4 separate regions of the Homo sapiens genome follow, and all the other regions are linked to region 4. The links are contacts of gene promoters, found by promoter capture Hi-C in blood cells and fetal thymus (Javierre and others, 2016). All regions are on one chromosome and are shown on one strand. The core of a region is centred on a gene start or on the middle of the fragment in contact, and the rest is flanking DNA. Distances in the headings are between cores, read along the strand shown. Region 1 holds the start of EXOC1 (exocyst complex component 1). Region 2 holds the start of SRP72 (signal recognition particle 72). Region 3 holds the start of NFXL1 (nuclear transcription factor, X-box binding like 1). Region 4 holds the start of DANCR (differentiation antagonizing non-protein coding RNA).

Evidence for each region. The method cuts DNA at HindIII sites, captures the fragments that hold promoters and counts their contacts. A CHiCAGO score of 5 or more calls a contact.
Region 1: a contact is called between the fragment with the promoter of EXOC1 here and the fragment with the promoter of DANCR in region 4, in 4 of 17 cell types (activated CD4 T cells, naive CD8 T cells, total CD4 T cells and 1 more). The highest score is 6.1, in activated CD4 T cells.
Region 2: a contact is called between the fragment with the promoter of SRP72 here and the fragment with the promoter of DANCR in region 4, in 1 of 17 cell types (naive CD8 T cells). The highest score is 6.4, in naive CD8 T cells.
Region 3: the fragment with the promoter of NFXL1 here is called in contact with the fragment with the promoter of DANCR in region 4 in 1 of 17 cell types (activated CD4 T cells); the score reaches 5.4 in activated CD4 T cells.

The regions. Positions count from the first base shown.
Region 1 is chr4:55,851,646-55,855,749 of GRCh38, reverse strand. EXOC1 (exocyst complex component 1) reads right to left here and starts at 2,102. Exons shown (of 19, transcript NM_001024924.2): 1 at 1,797-2,102. RefSeq lists a silencer at 2,211-2,310. The HindIII fragment of the contact is 2,625 bases long and covers 845-3,469 here.
Region 2 is chr4:56,465,596-56,469,850 of GRCh38, reverse strand. It overlaps SRP72 (signal recognition particle 72), which reads right to left and starts at 2,234. Exons shown (of 19, transcript NM_006947.4): 1 at 2,107-2,234; 2 at 78-198. The coding sequence starts at 2,215. It overlaps LOC124900706 (a long non-coding RNA gene), which reads left to right and starts at 2,293. Exons shown (of 2, transcript XR_007058126.1): 1 at 2,293-2,759. RefSeq lists an enhancer at 2,180-2,389. The HindIII fragment of the contact is 5,513 bases long and covers 612-4,255 here.
Region 3 is chr4:47,912,102-47,916,158 of GRCh38, reverse strand. It overlaps NFXL1 (nuclear transcription factor, X-box binding like 1), which reads left to right and starts at 1,576. Exons shown (of 23, transcript NM_001278624.2): 1 at 1,576-1,794; 2 at 1,954-2,190. The coding sequence starts at 1,956. LOC101927157 (a long non-coding RNA gene) reads right to left here and starts at 1,932. Exons shown (of 3, transcript NR_125879.1): 1 at 1,455-1,932. RefSeq lists enhancers at 1,596-1,825, 1,336-2,021, 2,022-2,708. The HindIII fragment of the contact is 5,032 bases long and covers 1-1,964 here.
Region 4 is chr4:52,711,013-52,715,217 of GRCh38, reverse strand. It overlaps DANCR (differentiation antagonizing non-protein coding RNA), which reads right to left and starts at 2,824. Exons shown (of 5, transcript NR_145129.1): 1 at 2,691-2,824; 2 at 2,259-2,394; 3 at 1,676-1,724; 4 at 980-1,019. MIR4449 (microRNA 4449) reads right to left here and starts at 2,536; the gene lies at 2,471-2,536. It overlaps SNORA26 (small nucleolar RNA, H/ACA box 26), which reads right to left and starts at 1,969; the gene lies at 1,848-1,969. RefSeq lists an enhancer at 2,141-2,190 and silencers at 2,441-3,010, 2,185-3,018. The HindIII fragment of the contact is 6,853 bases long and covers 1-3,241 here.

The DNA of each region.
Region 1 (4,104 bases), core at 853-3,352, 3.1 Mb before region 4:
CTTCTTTTCCTAGAATTCTCTTCTCCCTAGGAAATTACAATTCATCCCTCAAGATTGTGCTAAAATGTCATCTTTTCTGTAAAGTAGCCCCCTCCCTGCAGCCGCCCCACGCAAAGAGTAATTTCTACCTCTCTAACACTTCCCCTCTACTTCATAAATACGGCATTTATGAATTGTATTTTCTAGCTAGCTGTATTTTATCCCCTATTAAAAGTAGGACCATGTCTTAATCATCTTTGTATTCCTAGAACTTGACAAACTAGGCATTTAACAAATGCTTAAATTCACTAACATGACAGCTATAGCTCCTCCAAGATTCCCCTTTCCTAACTTTCACATCTATAAGCAAATGTCCAGGTTCAAAATCTACCATATTTGCTTCCCTATTCCCTTATCAACATGAAATCTGCTACCACATTCTGCGATTTCCCCCCATCTACATGTAATTTATTCCTTTCTTTTCGCACTGCAAATATACTGACCCAGGTTCATATCAACTTTACTTAACCCTACAAAATCTGGTTCTCTTTGCAAGGTCCCACAACCCTGAACAACAAGATAATTTTAAAAGACAGTTTGTATCACATCACGCTTTTACTCAACGTTTTCCTAATGTTCTCAAAAACATTCCACTCCAAACACTCTGTTCATTTTGGACATCAAATCTTCACTTTGGTACTTTCCATGTAAGGAATATCATCTCCGCCCTATCCAAACCCTAATTACACTTCATGGTTTACATGAAGTTGATTCAATGAAGATCTTAATCCAAAGTGATCTCTCCTCTAAATTTCTACAGCACTTACTGCATTTGCCGTCTAATGGGCTCATTAAATCATAAGCTTCTCTATCTCAAGAATTCTCTTAAAGAAGGGAGGGATGTTCATCATAGTTTTGTGTTTAGTGGATACTTAAATATCTATTAAGGTAATTAGAACTGAATAGTAAAAACTGGTCAAATGAATAATAGGGACCAACGTTTACCACATACTCCTTCTCTGGCTAAAAGCAACTGAGTGTACAGTAAGAGGCAAAACAAGACAGGATTGGGCATACCTCATAAAGGAGTTAGCCATAATGAAAAGCAGTATGTGACTCTTCATTCATTCAGCAAATACTCATGCTTATTAGGTGGCAGACACTATTCTAGGTTACAGTAGTCAACATGACAGATATGTTTATGAAGACCTGAAGCCGGGTGTTTCTATGGCATTTACATCCTAAGAGTCGAGTGATTAACTCTTCAGTCTTTACGGTACTTTTCTGAAAGTCAGTAAATAAATCCCTAGAGGTCCTCTAAAATTATTCTCCAGGTCTGAGAACCCATATCTGACCACGTTCCAAAGGCAGCCATCCACTGCTTACTCTGTACTGGTTGTTTCCTTCAGCTCAGTTGGACCACCACACTGTGTGACAAATAGCCTGTCAGTGTGAGTGCCCGTGTGCATTGGGCCCTGTATGCTGCTGAGATATATTAATGCATGAAGCATTGCCATCTAGAAGATATAACTGTGCAAGGAAATAGAGAAATACACTTAAGAGATTTGGCGGGGGGTGGGGGGGAGTTGGGGTTGGGGGGCCGGGATGTGAATTTGGACAAAGAGGAAGGCACAGTCACGCTCTCCTCTCCTGGACCACGCCAAAGAGCTTACGATCAGGGTCATTTTGCACAAACAAAATCTGGTTCCGATGGGCGGAACCGTAATGGGGCCCGTGAGGACTGCCCTCCCAGCTCCGCATTCTCCTAGACCCGAGGACAAGGGACTGGAGAATGCTCTGACCAAACTTCGTCTTACCGGGACAAACGGGGAAAGGAAGGTCAGAAGGAGCGGTGCCCGACCCCAGGCGTGGAGACAGCAGCCGGACTGAGGAGCCGCCTTAGACCCTGGTGCCTGTCAGCTCGTCTGTCCGCCGCCGCCGGGACTACCGGGCAGCCGCGGCCGAAGGCTTACCGCAAGGCCGGACTGAGCCTGGCTGTGCCGAGGCGGGTCTTCCAAAACGGAGACCGGATGGGGGCCACTAGGATACGCCCCTCAATAAAGCGTTGAACGGGAAGCGGCCGTTCCCCCAACACTTCCTATATCCGGGCACGTGACAAACTCCGCGCCGGAAGTTGACCGCGTAGAGAAGGAAGAAGCAGCGATGGGAGAAAAAGGGAGCGGCCAATAGACGCGGAGGGGCGGGGCGCCAACCGACGGGCGTGGCCAGGCGGAACAAGGCCTCATTGGAGGGGCGTGTCAGGGAAGGGCAGGGGCGGGGCCTTTGTGGCACAGAAACTGACTTGGGAGTTGGGGATTAAGAGTTATTTATTCAGATATTTGCAGCAATTCATTTAAGAAGAAATTCGATTAAATGTTTTCTTTTTTCATACGTAAAGCTCTATTAACTCTAGATCTTTGCTACTTAAACTTTGGAGAGCTTAAATGAGTTAAATCAGAATCCCTGCGGGTGGGACCCAGACATCAGTACTTTTAATATCTTCCCAGATGATTCTCATATGCAGCTAAGGTCAAGAACCATTGTCCTCATGACCTTGATACTCAAAGTGTGGTCCGTGGATCAGCTGCTTGGGTATCATCTGGGGGCTTTTTAGGAAATGCAGCCTCTCTGGCTCACTTCAGATCTACTGAATCAGAATCTGCATCTTAGCAAGATGATGCTTATGCATATTTAAGTTTGGGATGCATAAATGATGCCAATGTTGCTGGTTGCAGGTAGGTGTTTTATTTATTCAATATTCCTGGCACCTTTTTTTTTTAATGCTAGGCACTTTGATTCCAGGTACAGAGGTGATTCAGGCATGAATCTTAACCTAAAGGAGTTCACAGTGTGGTAGGACTAGACAAGGTGTAGGTACAAATATATATAAAATAGGACACAAAATAAGTGACCAAAGAGAGGTACAGATCAGATAAATGTGCTAGAAATTTAAATGAGCAAACAGTAGTTAGAATACTTTTCACTTTCATCAAATGACTTCCCTTTTAAGAGCAGGATCTGGTTATATCTTTACAAAGACCCTTTCCTGCTTGGCACCGGAATGCTTACTGTGGACACTCTATGACAATTGCATGTGTTTTTTGGTCCTATTATCTTTCTTTTATTTACCTGTATGTTTATAGCCCTCCTCAAAGTTGGGAAATGAATTGCATTTCAGAAGCCTAGATCTCTTTCTTGAACCTCAAGATTTGTGTATATACTGCCCATCGCCTGACATTTCCACTTGGATGTCTTATAGACACCTCAAACTTGTGTGTCCAAAAATTAAATTATCCTCTCTCCTCTTGGATTCCCTGCAAAGTGACACTTATATGCAATAGTTTATTTGGAAATTTGATCCCAGGGAGCAAAATGAGGGAAGAGGAAGAAGACAAAACAAAAAGGGAGATGCAGTATAAGAATGTGTTACTGAGTTGGTCATCACCATATTTGAATGTTTTCTTAGTCCCTTAGGACCTTCTAAGAAGCTTTATGAAATGAGTCTCAGAACTGTCCATTAAAGGAAAGAACGGAGGAAGCATTTGTATGTCGGCTCCTGTCCTCTTTGATCGAAGGTTAATGCCCTTGGGCATTAACTACTTCACACTTACAAATCGCACAGTTGTGAATGCCAAGCTGACTCCCACATCAGAGACATGCTGGGGCAGGAAGTGAGAGGAGAGGTGCTGGTATTTCGCACTTGTTCAAAGGTCATCAAACCTGCTCCGAGCAGGTTGCTGCAGCAGTGGTTAGAATAATAGGCTGAAGGGATTTGAAGTCATGGCCTAAGTTGCACAGAAGGACATAGAAGGTGTCCATATCTTGCAGCACTCTGATCTGCCTGTGTGCTCTGTTATGTTCAGTCCTTCACAGAGGTCTCTTCAAGGTGATGGCCAGCCACAATCTCAGCAAAGCCTTAATATAAGAGAGTTAATAGAATAAGCTTCAGTTTTTACTGCTGCATCAATGTCAGGACCATACTTGTATTAACTCCCTCTTCCACTACCCATTCTAATTTTCCCTCACCATTGACCAGCACATCAGCTGGTCTAAGTTGTTTCTCTGGTGAAATAGCCCCCACCTTCAGCCTTTATTTTCCTTTCTCTGGTTAAGCCATGATTGCTG
Region 2 (4,255 bases), core at 985-3,484, 3.8 Mb before region 4:
GGGAAAAAACATGGAAGAGATTATAGCTATAGTAAGTGTTTCTAATAACTGTACAAGCAACTAACTGAATCACTTACTTGGCTAACACTTTGGTGTGAGTATTGATGACATTCAAAGCTTCCTTGAAACTTCCATTCTGGATAAGGCATACCACTTTACAATGCAGGGCAGTTACGTCATCTTTGTTGATCTGTAGTACTAGAGAACAATTTTAGGAAAAGTCATTTTTAAATCCATTTCCTTTTCACATTTTTACTAAATTTTCCCACCCTGTCTCTCCGAAAGCTAAATTTCTACTTTTATTGCAACAGAAATAATTGGTCAGAACAACTGGAAGAAACAGCAACAAAACAAAACAAACCCAGAAAACAACTAATCTTTGCTTTTAACTTAAGAAGTGACAATAAGGAGAGTTATAGATTAAATTTTCAATGAGATAAAGATTCCCAATATACATGTACCAAAAAAGTGCAGTGAAATAAAGAAGAAAGAAGCAATTTCTCCAGATATTTCATCTTGAAATGCATGCTACATTCTACATAGTTCATTACTTCACAGGGAAAAAGTTCAGGTAGAATTTGGAAGCAAATGACCTAGGTTTGGTGCAAGCTTGCCACTAAATGCTTTGAGGTATTGGGCATATCACTTAACAGCCAAATCTCAGTTTTCTTAGCTACAAAATGATTAGAAAAGCATTACCTATTTAATAAGGTTACTGACAATATGAAATGAATATTTTGGAAAAATCTTATAAAGTATAATACAAAGGCAATTTATCTTGCTGGCAACGTTTCCAAAAATCATTAAAATTTCCCCTTTTCAACTAAGATGACCAAAGTATAAGGAAGAACTCAGGTGGCAAGTTTCAACGCTAACAACTGTTCGGTGTTAAAATGACCAGGATCATAGTTACTCTTGCTCCTGTGCAACTACAGAAGTCCAATTCTCAAAGAATCACAAGAATTTCTACCAATTAAGAAAACATACTGGTAAACAAGTTGACAATCTTTGCTGATTAAAGAATTCCTGCAAAATACTATACTAAGTATACAGTACTGGTTGGAAGGCTAGAGTTAATTCAAACAAATTTAGGGATCAAATAATTCTAATTCGTAGCTATTTTCCTCAATGTCTGAAATCACCAAAAGTGCACTGTGGGCACAATCACTACTTTTCACGTTAACCCAGTACTAGAGTGTTGAAAATTACTTAGATAGCTTTGCATGTTACTGACACACCTTTTAGGTTACTGCTACTCTGAACAGCTAAGCCCTGCCTTGGTAATTACATTTCCAAATCTAACATGCACAGGCTGTATCTTCAGTAGAGAAGAACTGCGCACCACCGAGAACATTAAGCAGCATGGCCATATTCCAGGTATGTAGTAAGGAACAAAAGAATATGATGAATTAAACCTCACACCAAAGGCGGTAAAAACCGAAATCATCCCTTACAGGGCAAAAAAACAGGCCAAACTTTTCTTCCGACATTATTTCAAGTGTTGGTGCTTCCACACACATATTTCCTAACTTAATAACACTGAAGAGATCTCATCTATGGGAATGACAGGCCTGACATCCAGATCCAGCCCTTTCCTCTCGCCCCGTAGAACCCGTACAGCTTCCACCTGGTTAGCACCAGCCTCTAAACTACGTGTCCCAAGCAGGTTCCTCCCCCTTTAGCGGCCAAAGAGAACAAGCTCCCTCAGCAATAGAGTCCTGATCACTGCGCTCAAGACGAAGAAGAAAAGGAGGCACTTTGGAATATTTGTGAAATAAAGCAGCAAAGGAGTCAAATAAGAAAACAGTTTGAAATGGACTCCGGGAGCTGCGGTCTCTTTAAAACCTTCCCTCGCTTCCCGCGGAGGGTAAAAAGAGAAGTACACGTGGCTGTAAGCAACCAGGGACCCCAGGCTGGCCTGGTGAAGCCGAGGAGTGAGACCTGCGTCTTCCGGGCGCTAGGGCCCGAGCCGGGCGGACAATAGACGGGGGGGTTTCGGGGGTCTCCCCTTCCCGTGCCTCCCGCGCGAGGTGGTCTCGCGCGCCGGAAACAGGCCGCATCCTCCAGCCGGCCTGGGCCCGCCCCAGTGCCCACCCCGACACTTACTCTTATTGACGGTCTTGAGAGCGCGCGTGAAGTCGCCGTTCTGGCCATACCGGTTCACTTCACTCCACAGCGCAGGTACTGACACCCCCCCGCTGCCGCCGCTCGCCATCTTGGAGGAGACGAGGGGCGGGGCGGGGAGACCTCTGCCCCGGAACAGGATCTCCGAGGCAGCCAAGAGGAGGAGGAAGTCGATGATTGCTAAGCGTCGCCGAGTTGGGAGTGTCTTCAGCCCTAAGGCAGCATCAGAGATCATAATCTTCTGCTCTCGTGGCAAGAAATTTGTGCGGATAGAGTTGATACACCTCACTTGAAGTTGGCCTGGAGAAAAGAGGCGTCGGACTCCTGGACGGGGTTGGGAAACGGTCACCAGTTTCGGCTCAAAGCAGCCTGTTTCCAGGAGACCGCCATGGTCGAGGCAGCGTCCTGGTCCCACGGTGCGGGGCCGGACGATCATTTATGGGATATAAATAAAAGGACTATGAGGTGGTAAATAAAAGACTACCAACTAGAAGCCATAGGGAGTCATTTGAAGGAGAAATAGGCACGGCTCATCTGTGGTTGAGGGAAAGGGATCTTGAAAGATGATTAGGAGAACTTGGGTTCTGGGGAAAGTGCGGGAAGACATTCTGGCAGAGAAGCAAACGTGAGGAAAGGTAAGAAGGCAAGAATCTCCCATTACAAAGGGTTTGGTGAAACCCTTTGCCTGTCCTTTTCGCTCCCTTCGGGAGCAGTCGGCAATAAGCTGGAAGGGTAATGGGGTGAAAATGCCCGTGGTCAGTTCCCTGGCTCTGCGACTCACTAGATGTCTGACAATAAACAAGTTACTTAGCTTCTGGGAGTCTGTTTTCCCGATTGTGAAATGGGGATACTATATTTGTTCTAGAGATATAAAATATTAGGGTTTGCTTGCGACCGTTAATATCAAGATGTGTTCAGATGTACGAAGGGAATGGATATCTGTTGGGTACACTTGATGTGAGTGATTTTTTTTTTTTTTTGAGACGGGGATCTTGCCGTGTTGCCCAAGCTGGTCTGGAACTCCTGGGCTCAAGCAATCCTCCCACCACAGCCTCCCCAAGTGCTGGGATTACAGGCATGAGCCACCACACCAAGACGATGTGAGTGATTCACTTGATGTGAATGTTGTATTTCATTGAATGGCCTGCTCTTCAGACTCATATCTCGTCATGACCTTTACAACTTCTACTACTTCCTGTGTCCCTCAGGAACCTAGCTTTTTTTTTTTTTTTTTTTTTTTTTTTTTGAGACGTAGTCTAGCTCTGTGACCCAGGATGAACCTCACTGCAATCTCCACCTCCTGGGTTAAAGCGATTCTTTTGCCTCAGCCTCCCAAGTAGCATGAGCCACCACGCCCGGTTAATTTTTGAATTTTTAGTAGAGATGGGGTTTCACTGTGTTGGCCAAGCTGGTCTCAAACTCCTGACCTCAAGTGATCCGCCCTCTCTCAGCCTCCCAAAGTACAGGGATTACAGGCGTAAGCCACCGTGCCCGGCCTTGCTAACTACTTTTTGTCTTTCAGTCTTTCTGGTTATACGTTGAAAGTTACTTTGAGGAAACATTTGATCTTGCAGACTGGGCAGCCTTCTGGTTGCATCCTCTTAGAACAGGGGTCCCCAACCCTTGTACTGGTCTGCAGCCTGTTAGGAACCGGGCGGCACAGCAGTAGGTGATCGGTGGGCCAGTGAGCAGTACCGCCTGAGCTCCTGTCAGATCAGCTGTGATATTAGCTTCTCACAGCTCAAACCCTATTGTGAACTGGGAATGTGAAGGATCTAGGTTGCTCACTCCTTAAGAGAATCTAATGGGAAATGTAATGAGCTTGAATCATACTGAAACCAGCTGTCCAACTCCTGTGGAAAGATTGTCTTCCCTGAAACCGGTCCCTGGTGCCAAAAAGGTTGGGAGACTCCCTATAGGACTCCACTTCTGAGCACTGATAATTAAGGGTTATCTCACTCTGTATGGACTATAGTTCTGAGGCCAAGGAACCATATTTACCTTGCTCACTGCAGTATCCCTAGGATCTAGCATACTGCCTGGCACATAGTTGGCATTTTTTGTTTCACATTCCTTGCCTAATCTTGAGTTCCTTGAGGGCAGAAACTGCCCAGCTCCTGATATGGCATAT
Region 3 (4,057 bases), core at 327-2,826, 4.8 Mb after region 4:
ACTTAGGATTGAATCTTGGCTTCACTACTTCCTAGCTGTATGATCAAGGGCAAATTGCTTAATCTCTCTGTGCCTCAGTGTTCTCAGTTGTAAAACGGGGATAATAAACACGGTTACTGTGAGTACCAAATTAGTTAATACATAACGTAAAACACTTTAAACAGTGCCTGACATCTAATAAATGCTATCTAAATATTATAATAGAAATTTATGGTTAAAATAGAAGAATTAACTAAGTTGAAGGACTGTACAATAAGCCATCAATATGTTTCTCAATCCCAGACAGACCCCAGAATGAATTTTTGCAATCTACCTGTCAGTATATATGCACATGTATCTTATTGGAAAACTCAGCAAAATCATAAGATTTAGGTCCTGGCCCTCAACTATTTTCCTTAACAAAATCTACTTTAGGGAGATGCTGTGAAGGTAAAAATTAGCATGTCCCAGGGAAAGCTCATTGCACACTACAAAGGACTATGACAATAACAGGCTTTAGATTTATTTTCTACATTGGCTCTAGCATTTTAGAAGGGTACTTTTACTACTCAAGCCACTTTCCTGCAACTCTCCCCCGAATTTCCCTCCTTCACAGTGGCCAACCTCAAAGCGTTTTCAATGTAAGTGCCTTTCCTGTTAGTGAGACTTCCCTATGAAAATAAATAGTTTAAAGGTTGTTGGAGCCTAAAACTCACTAAGCCTGGAGAGAGATGTGACTGTCATCTGAGTTACACGTGGTTACAACTTCTGTTTCTCAGATTATAGATTAACTTGCTTTCTTATTTTTCTTGTTCTATACAATGGCTAGAGAGAATTAAACGAAGTTAAGGACAAAAACTTCCTGCCTTCTTAATGATCCTTATAGATTAACTTCTGCTTTGTTGCCCCGGTTTGCTTAGACCAGATGACAGAAAATCCTTTATGAAAAATGTTAAATGTACACTTCCCAAAAAGAAACACTGTCTATAATCAAATTGTTGTAACTATTCTCTAACCTTGTATGAGAAAATGCTGTAATCCTGCTAAAAAACCTCTCAGTTTCTGCCTATATAAGTGAAATCTTAAATCTCTACTTCGGAACGCTGACTCCTTCCTTGGAGTCGGTGTTTCTAGGTAGGCTATCCTCAAACTTCGCGCTTTTGATTATTTTACATTGACACCTCCTGTCATCCGCAAGCTCAAAGGCAAGGCTAATAAAAGATGGCAGAGAGCCAATTAGGGACAGAGCCATGTAATCCTCATACCCAGGTGAGTTTAGGGCAGTCTTGCAGAAGCAGAAGCAAATTGTGGGGTCACGAAACCCTCCGGACCCGCCCGCCTCCACCACCACGCGCCCCTATGACCTTCGACCCCTCCCTAGCCCCAGAGCACGCCGGGAGTTGTAGTTCCCAAAGGCCTGTTCGGGCCAGCGCAGGCGCTTGGGGTTTCCCTCCCACCCAACCCCCGCACTTTACCGGATAAGGAAGCGGCCCGTGCTGCCACGCAGTCGCCGGAACGCGGGCGGGGGCTTCTGGGAGTTGTAGTCTGTTGGGGGCGTGCGCAGTCGGTAAGGAGACGTAGCTTTCCGTGGGGTGTACCACTGCAGTTGGTTCCCGGCGGGAGACGCAGGGTCAGTCTGTGACTCTTCCCCTACCACGCTCCCGCAGAGGCTGAGGAGGCGGTTTCGACTTCTCCTCCGGCTTTCTGTCTTCGGCACTGTGTGCTTCTTGCTCCGCGGTTTATTTCTGTACCTAGTCCTCCCTCCCCTCTTCGGTCCATCTCCAAAGCCCGGGCTTGGCGGGGACTCGCCCTCCGGTAAAGGCAGGGCCGCGACCTCCTAAAACCCGGTCGCCGCCCTGCAGGAACCTTCCTCACTCGGCCCCTCACACCGGGTTTCCGCACTGACCCTCCTTCGCCTCGGTCCTCGCTGCGCTCACCTCCTTCCACTCTTTTTTTTTTTTTTCTCCTTTGCAGGGATGGAAGCTTCCTGGCGCCAGGTGGCCGGTGGCCGAGGCCGATCCCGGGGACGGGCCACTGCCGCCCCCTCAGGAAATGGAGTCCATCTCCGCGGCGCCGGAGGAGGGCGAGAGAAGGGGTCGGTGGGCGCAGTTCCTTCTGGCACCAGTCCCGGAGGAGTCGCGACCACGGCGGCTGCAGGGAGCAGGCACAGCCCCGCAGGATCCCAAGCCCTGCAGACTACCGCAGCCAGCGGTGAGAATGGCTCCCGCCCGCGTGCTCACCTGGATGCCTCCTAAGGCAGTTACTAGTCAGGACCGCCTCCGCCCTCGCCTTCTTTCTTTCACTGCTTTTCCCCTCGTTCGGGAGTTTGTTATCGGGCCCACTTCTCCAGCCTTTCGGGTGGCTGCTCTTTTCGGCACTCTAGGTAGATTTCCATCGCACCTCTTTCATCTTAATTTTAGGTGGTATTACCTTTGTTACTTCCCTCCACTCTTGCCTACTTGAATCTCCAGACCATCAGTTGTAAATTGTGGCCCGGTGTTCTGATTTGGTCTATAATGTTGTTTGGTTAACACAGAGTTTTAAATGTGGATTGATTGTCAGCGGTTGTTTGTCGTTTTTAAAAATCTGGTTAACAACCTTGTGGCTTTAGTTATCTTTGTGCATGGCAACAGTCAGCTCGGCTGAGTCACAGAAATCCCATTTAGATTGGACTTGGGCATTCCATCTCACATTCTCTCTCATTTCTGGAGCCAGGTGTCATTTGTCATCTTTACCTTTGCCTTTGTTTCTTGACTTGTCTTATTCCTTGTAAGCACTTGAGCTTTTGATACCTTCCTTGACTGTAGTTCCTATTTACAAATTCCATGTCCTTCTGTGGACATATCTGGTGTTGCCTCCGATATATCAATACTTTTCATCCAAGACCATGTTTTCGTGGAGCCAGGGAGGACTTACACACAATTGTGCATGGGGCCGAGGGAATAATCCCTGAAATCATTTTATTTTTGTGTTTGGAATGCATTTCAGGATACATTTTTTTGGGGGGTGTGGAGCAGAATTGAGTATCTTGAATGATTTTTCTCCTAGGCTAATTTGAAAGGTAGGTGGTATTCTCTTAGCATGCAGTTAATGGCCGTGATGATAAGGTATACAATATGGAGACGTGTGAACAGGTTTGGTAAACTTTTTTTTTTTTTTTTTTTTTTTGAGACAGAGTCTCGCTGGTCGCCCAGGCTGGAGTGCAGTGGCGCAATCTCGGCTCACTGCAAGCTCTGCCTCCTGGGTTCAGGCCGTTCTCCGGCCTCAGCCTCCCGAGTAGCTGGGACTACAGGCGCCTGCCACCACGCCTGGCTAATGTTTTGTTTTTTGTTCTTTGGTTTTTTTTTTTTAGTAGAGACGGGGTTTCACCGTGTTAGCCAGGATGGTCTCCATCTCGTGGGTAGAAGGAAAACAAGCATTCTGTCCGGGCGCGGTGGCTCAAGCCTGTAATCCCAGCACTTTGGGAGGCCGAGGCGGGCAGATCATGAGGTCAGGAGATGGAGACCATCCTGGCTAACAGGGTGAAACCCCGTCTCTACTAAAAATACAAAAAATTAGCCGGGCGGGGTGGCAGGCGCCTGTAGTCCCAGCTACTCGGGAGGCTGAGGAAGGAGAATGGCGTGAGCCCGGGAGGCGGAGCTTGCAGTAGCCGAGATTGCCCCACTGCACTCCAGCCTGGGCGACAGAGCAAGACTCCGTCTCAAAAAAAAAAAAAAAAGAAAGAAAAGAAAAAGAAAACAAGCATTCTCTACCTGGACAGTTGAGATTTGGCTGTAAGAAATAATACGTGAGAAGGTTGTCTTGTCAGCTTCTCTTTACTTTGAGATGATGTTAGGTGAATACATTTATCAGGTTATGAATGTTCTCATTATCTCTGTCCAGTTCAGCCTGTTTTCTTATGTATCTTTTAAGTGCTAATTTCCCGTATATTAATGACATTTATCATCTCTTTTGTGACAAGTTTTGAGTTATATATCTCATAGCCAGTTCTTTTTTCCCAGTACTCAAAGCTTGCTAGGTAAGCATGATACACATTTTCGTCGAGGTTTACTTGAAATACTCAATTTGTTTTGTTAAT
Region 4 (4,205 bases), core at 1,575-4,074:
ATAAAGAACTGAGACTGGGTAATTTATAAAGAAAAGGTTTGTCTCATGGTTCAGCAGGCTGCACAGGGAGCATGGCTGCTGAGGCTTCAGGAAACTTACAATCATGGGGTATGTCTAACAGGAAGCACATGGCCAGAGTAGGAGGAAGGGGAGGTGCCACACTTTTAATCTAAACTCTGCCATTCTTCTGCCTCTGCCTTGAGATAACATGTGCACAATTGCATAACCTTTATTTTTATTAATTTTTCTTTTCAGGCTGGAGCACGGTGACAAGATCATGGCTCAGTGCAGTCTCAACCTCTTGGGCTCAAGCAATCCTTCTGCCTCATTTTTTGTAGAGACGAGGTCTTACTATGTTGCCCAAGATAGTCTTAACTCCTGACCTCAAGTGATCCCCCTGCCTTGGCCTTCCCAAGTGCTGGGATTACAGGCATGAGCCACTGCCCCAGCCACACTACACATCTAAACAACCAGATCTCATGAGAACTCACTATCACAAGGAACAGCAAGAGGGAAATCCACCCTTTTCATCCAATCACGTCCCACCAGGCCCCTCCTCTAACATCGGGATTACAATTCAACATTATCCAAACTTGTGAGCAATTACCTAAATTTATGAGGCTAGACTTTACAATATGGAACATAAAAGTTTAGATAAAAAGGTAAGAACAATGCTATGAATTAAGAATGACTCCAAGATAAATATTAATACTTGCTACATAGACACACACAAAAAAACAGAATATGCTGACAGATACTCCTTCTGTGCCAAATTTTGTGAACCTTCTTAGGCTCAATGCAATGAAATAATATGAAGAGTTTATATTCTTAACAGCTCGACTGTGGTCCTTTCCTAGTTTGGTTGAAATAATTCTTAACTGTTACACCAGGACACCAAATCTCAAGAGACAAGTGACTTTCCAGAAGTCACATTGCCTAAAAGTTATACATGTGAAGCCTCTCATTCAGAGATACTCACAGGTGATGAAACTTGAGTTATCACTAATCCATTTCTTTACCTGTGAAATGGGAGAATAGAATCTGTAAGGTTAGCCGAGAGAAAAGACAAGAGACCCAAGGTCAGGCCAAGTAAGTTTATTAACCTGCCAGGCTTCTCCACCAGTCGGAGGTGGCAGCCCTGAGCTTACAAAATGAGGGGTTTATATGGGGGAGAGAGACCCTGGGGTTGTTAGTCAATTAACTTTACCACATATAATCTCATGACCGGCTTACAATATATTATCTTGTGAAAATAGGAATTTACAAGGGGGTGTAATCCACGTTTCTCATGACCTCCCCCGTGCCACCCAGAGGGCTTCGGTGTAGCAAGTCTGGTGACCTTGCTATAGCGCCTAGATAACGGTTCAGGAATGCAGCTGCAGAGTATTCAGGGTAAGGGTCAGCTGCATTGAGTTAGCGGGGGCGGAGTGGTCCTGGGGCAGCCTGTCCCTAACAGAATCCACCTCCGAGTTGTGACAATTAAATGAAAAGGTTGAAAAGGTGAACATGAAGCACCTGCTACACTGCCCTGTTGCCACCAGCATTGTCACTGCTCTAGCTCCTGTGGCACTGCACGGACACGTGGTTGCTACAAGTTAGTACGCATATTTGGCCTTATTAGAGGCACTTTCCTATTGTAACTGAAGGGATAGTTGGCTTAAGTCAATTGAAATACCAGCAACAGGACATTCCAGCTTCAATGGCTTGTGCCTGTAGTTGTCAACCTATAGAAAGAAAAGTTTTAAAATGACGTTTTAACCAAAGAAAACTGAAATGTATTGCTTGTTCTATAAACTGTAAAGAAAATCACAAAGGCGCTCAAGTTGTAACGAAACTTTTTCTGGTTCAGTTGTGACTCCAGACAGGATCCAAAGAGGAGCTTTCCAGTCTCTTCTCTGGGTTTTATGGAGACTTACTTTACCCTTCTGTGTTAGCCTCTTAAAGCACTGGGTCAACCTTAAAAGGGCACAGGAAAGGGTGCTTTGTGATTTTTTTTCTTTGATTTTTACAGGGTTCACTACTATTTTCCGCGTTGCTCTCAATACCTCGTGGATCTCTGCTTCTCTAAGTCTGAAACCACACTAGAAACACAGCTGTTTTGTTTGGTGAGCCCCTACATGGATGTTTCCTTCCAGTTAAGGGGAGCCGGATTCGGACCTTGGCGACAAACAGACGCCGGGGAACCCTCCGGTCCCACTGGCCACGTGCTCCAGGCTGACTCATTCCTTCCCCCACCCCGCTCAAGGCTAGGAACATACCTGCGCTAAGAACTGAGGCAGCTGCACTTCCGCAGACGTAAGAGACGAACTCCTGGAGCTCAAGGTCGGCTGGGGTTGGGTTCCTGTCCCGCACGCGTGGCCCGCCCGAAACCCGCTACATAGTGGCGCGTCAGCCCTGGGGAAGCAAAGCGCAAAATTGTTACGGTGCCCAGACCTGCGCCGGGAACCTCCGGCTGTTCCGCTGGGCGCGGCGCCTGTGCCTCGCGCAGCCCCGGGACGGGCACCGCCGCCCGCCCCCCGGGCCGCCGAGGGCTGCTCTACCCCTCCGTTCTGGCCGCCGGGAGCAGAGGAGCTCGAGGCGGGCAAAGCTCGTGGGGACACCGGGCGAGCCCAGCCCCTGATCGGACCCACGGGCCGGCCGGGCGCCCTCCCCGCGGGAGACCGAAAGCCGAAGACTGGAGATGCACTCACCGCGCAACTCCAGCTGACAAAGAGGCCTGCGACCTGCGACGGGCGCACAAACCAGAGAGGCGGCGCGGGGCGGGGAGGGAAGCAGGAGGGTCGCGAGGCCCGCAGCCAATCCCGGGAAGACTCTGGGCAAGGGCGGGGCGCGCAGCCGATCCCCTGGAGAGGTCGGGTAGCTCAGCCAATCCCGGGAAGATCCTGAGCGGGGCGGGGTGGAGGGCCGCGGCACGCACAGCCAATCCCGGATGGGGCGGGACGGGCCCGGCCATTGGCTGTCGGTGTCCGGGGCCGGCCTAGGTGTGGCTCATGCAGTAGCACGGGGATAAGCCATGTCTGCGCGCGGAGCATCCTTCTCTGAATTAGATTTTTCAGGCTACCTACCAATCCCCGGCGTTGGTGATTTTGGTGCTCTTGGGCCCTAGACCCTTCCTCGGGTGCCCTTCTGGAGAGGGCATCGAGGTTACTCCAGGGTTGGCCTAAGGCCCTGGGATTCCCTTTCTTAAAGCCACACTAATCCGGTGTGTGTTCATCATCTGTGTCCGCCTAAACCGTAAGCTTAAAGAGAAGCCACGACCATGTCTTGTTCAACAAGCTCACTCCCGTGGCCTCTCCTAAAGCTAGAAGGACTACCTCCTTTCCTCATGCTCCCTCTTTATTCATTTACAGAGTCCAATAAGTAGACCATAATCAGCTGGAGGGTAGGAGTTGGGGAGGTTGAGAAGGCAACCATAGCAATCTCAAGGTAACAGGCTCAAACTTGGCAAACAAATAAGTAGAAGAAAATTGGAGTATATGCTAAAAGGAGAACTTCTATTGCTGTTTCACGTACTTACCATCTGCTAACAAATCTAATCCTCAAAATATATTTAATCATCTCCAAATTATAGATGGGGAAATAATTATGTTATGTAACTTGCCCAAAGTCACAGAGCAGCTAGCCAGTGGTAGATCCAGGATTTGAACTCAAGCAGCCTGAAGGCAGAGCCCCTCAAACAACATGCTACCTAGCCTTTCCCCAGGTGTTGGGGGTGGAGCAGGAAGGGAAACCAAAAAATAGCCTACACTTGGTTAACAGATCAAGACAGGCAGCTCTGGTGGGGTGTGGCTTTGTAAACAGAAAGAACAACTCGTCCAGAGCCCCAAGATAAAACAGGAAAGGGCTTTACCTGTTTAAGGACTCCCAGAAATGGAACTTAAGGAGCAGAGTGGCCTGAGATGAGAATGGCTTGGGGCCAGACCATGCAGGAAACCCTGGAAGAGTTTTTTTGTTTTGTTTTGTTTTTGAGATGGAGTCTCGCTCTGTTGCCCAGACTGGAGTATAGTGGCACGATCTTGGCTCACTGCAGCCTCCACCTCCCAAGTTCAAACTATTCTCGTCTCGGCCTCCCGGGTAGTTGGGATTACAGGCATGCACCACCATGCCTGGTTAATTTTTGTATTTGTGAAAGAGTTTATACTTTGTGCTAAGAATGATGGAAAGCTGTTCAAGTGTTTTGTTTGTTTGTTGTGTGTGTGTGTGTG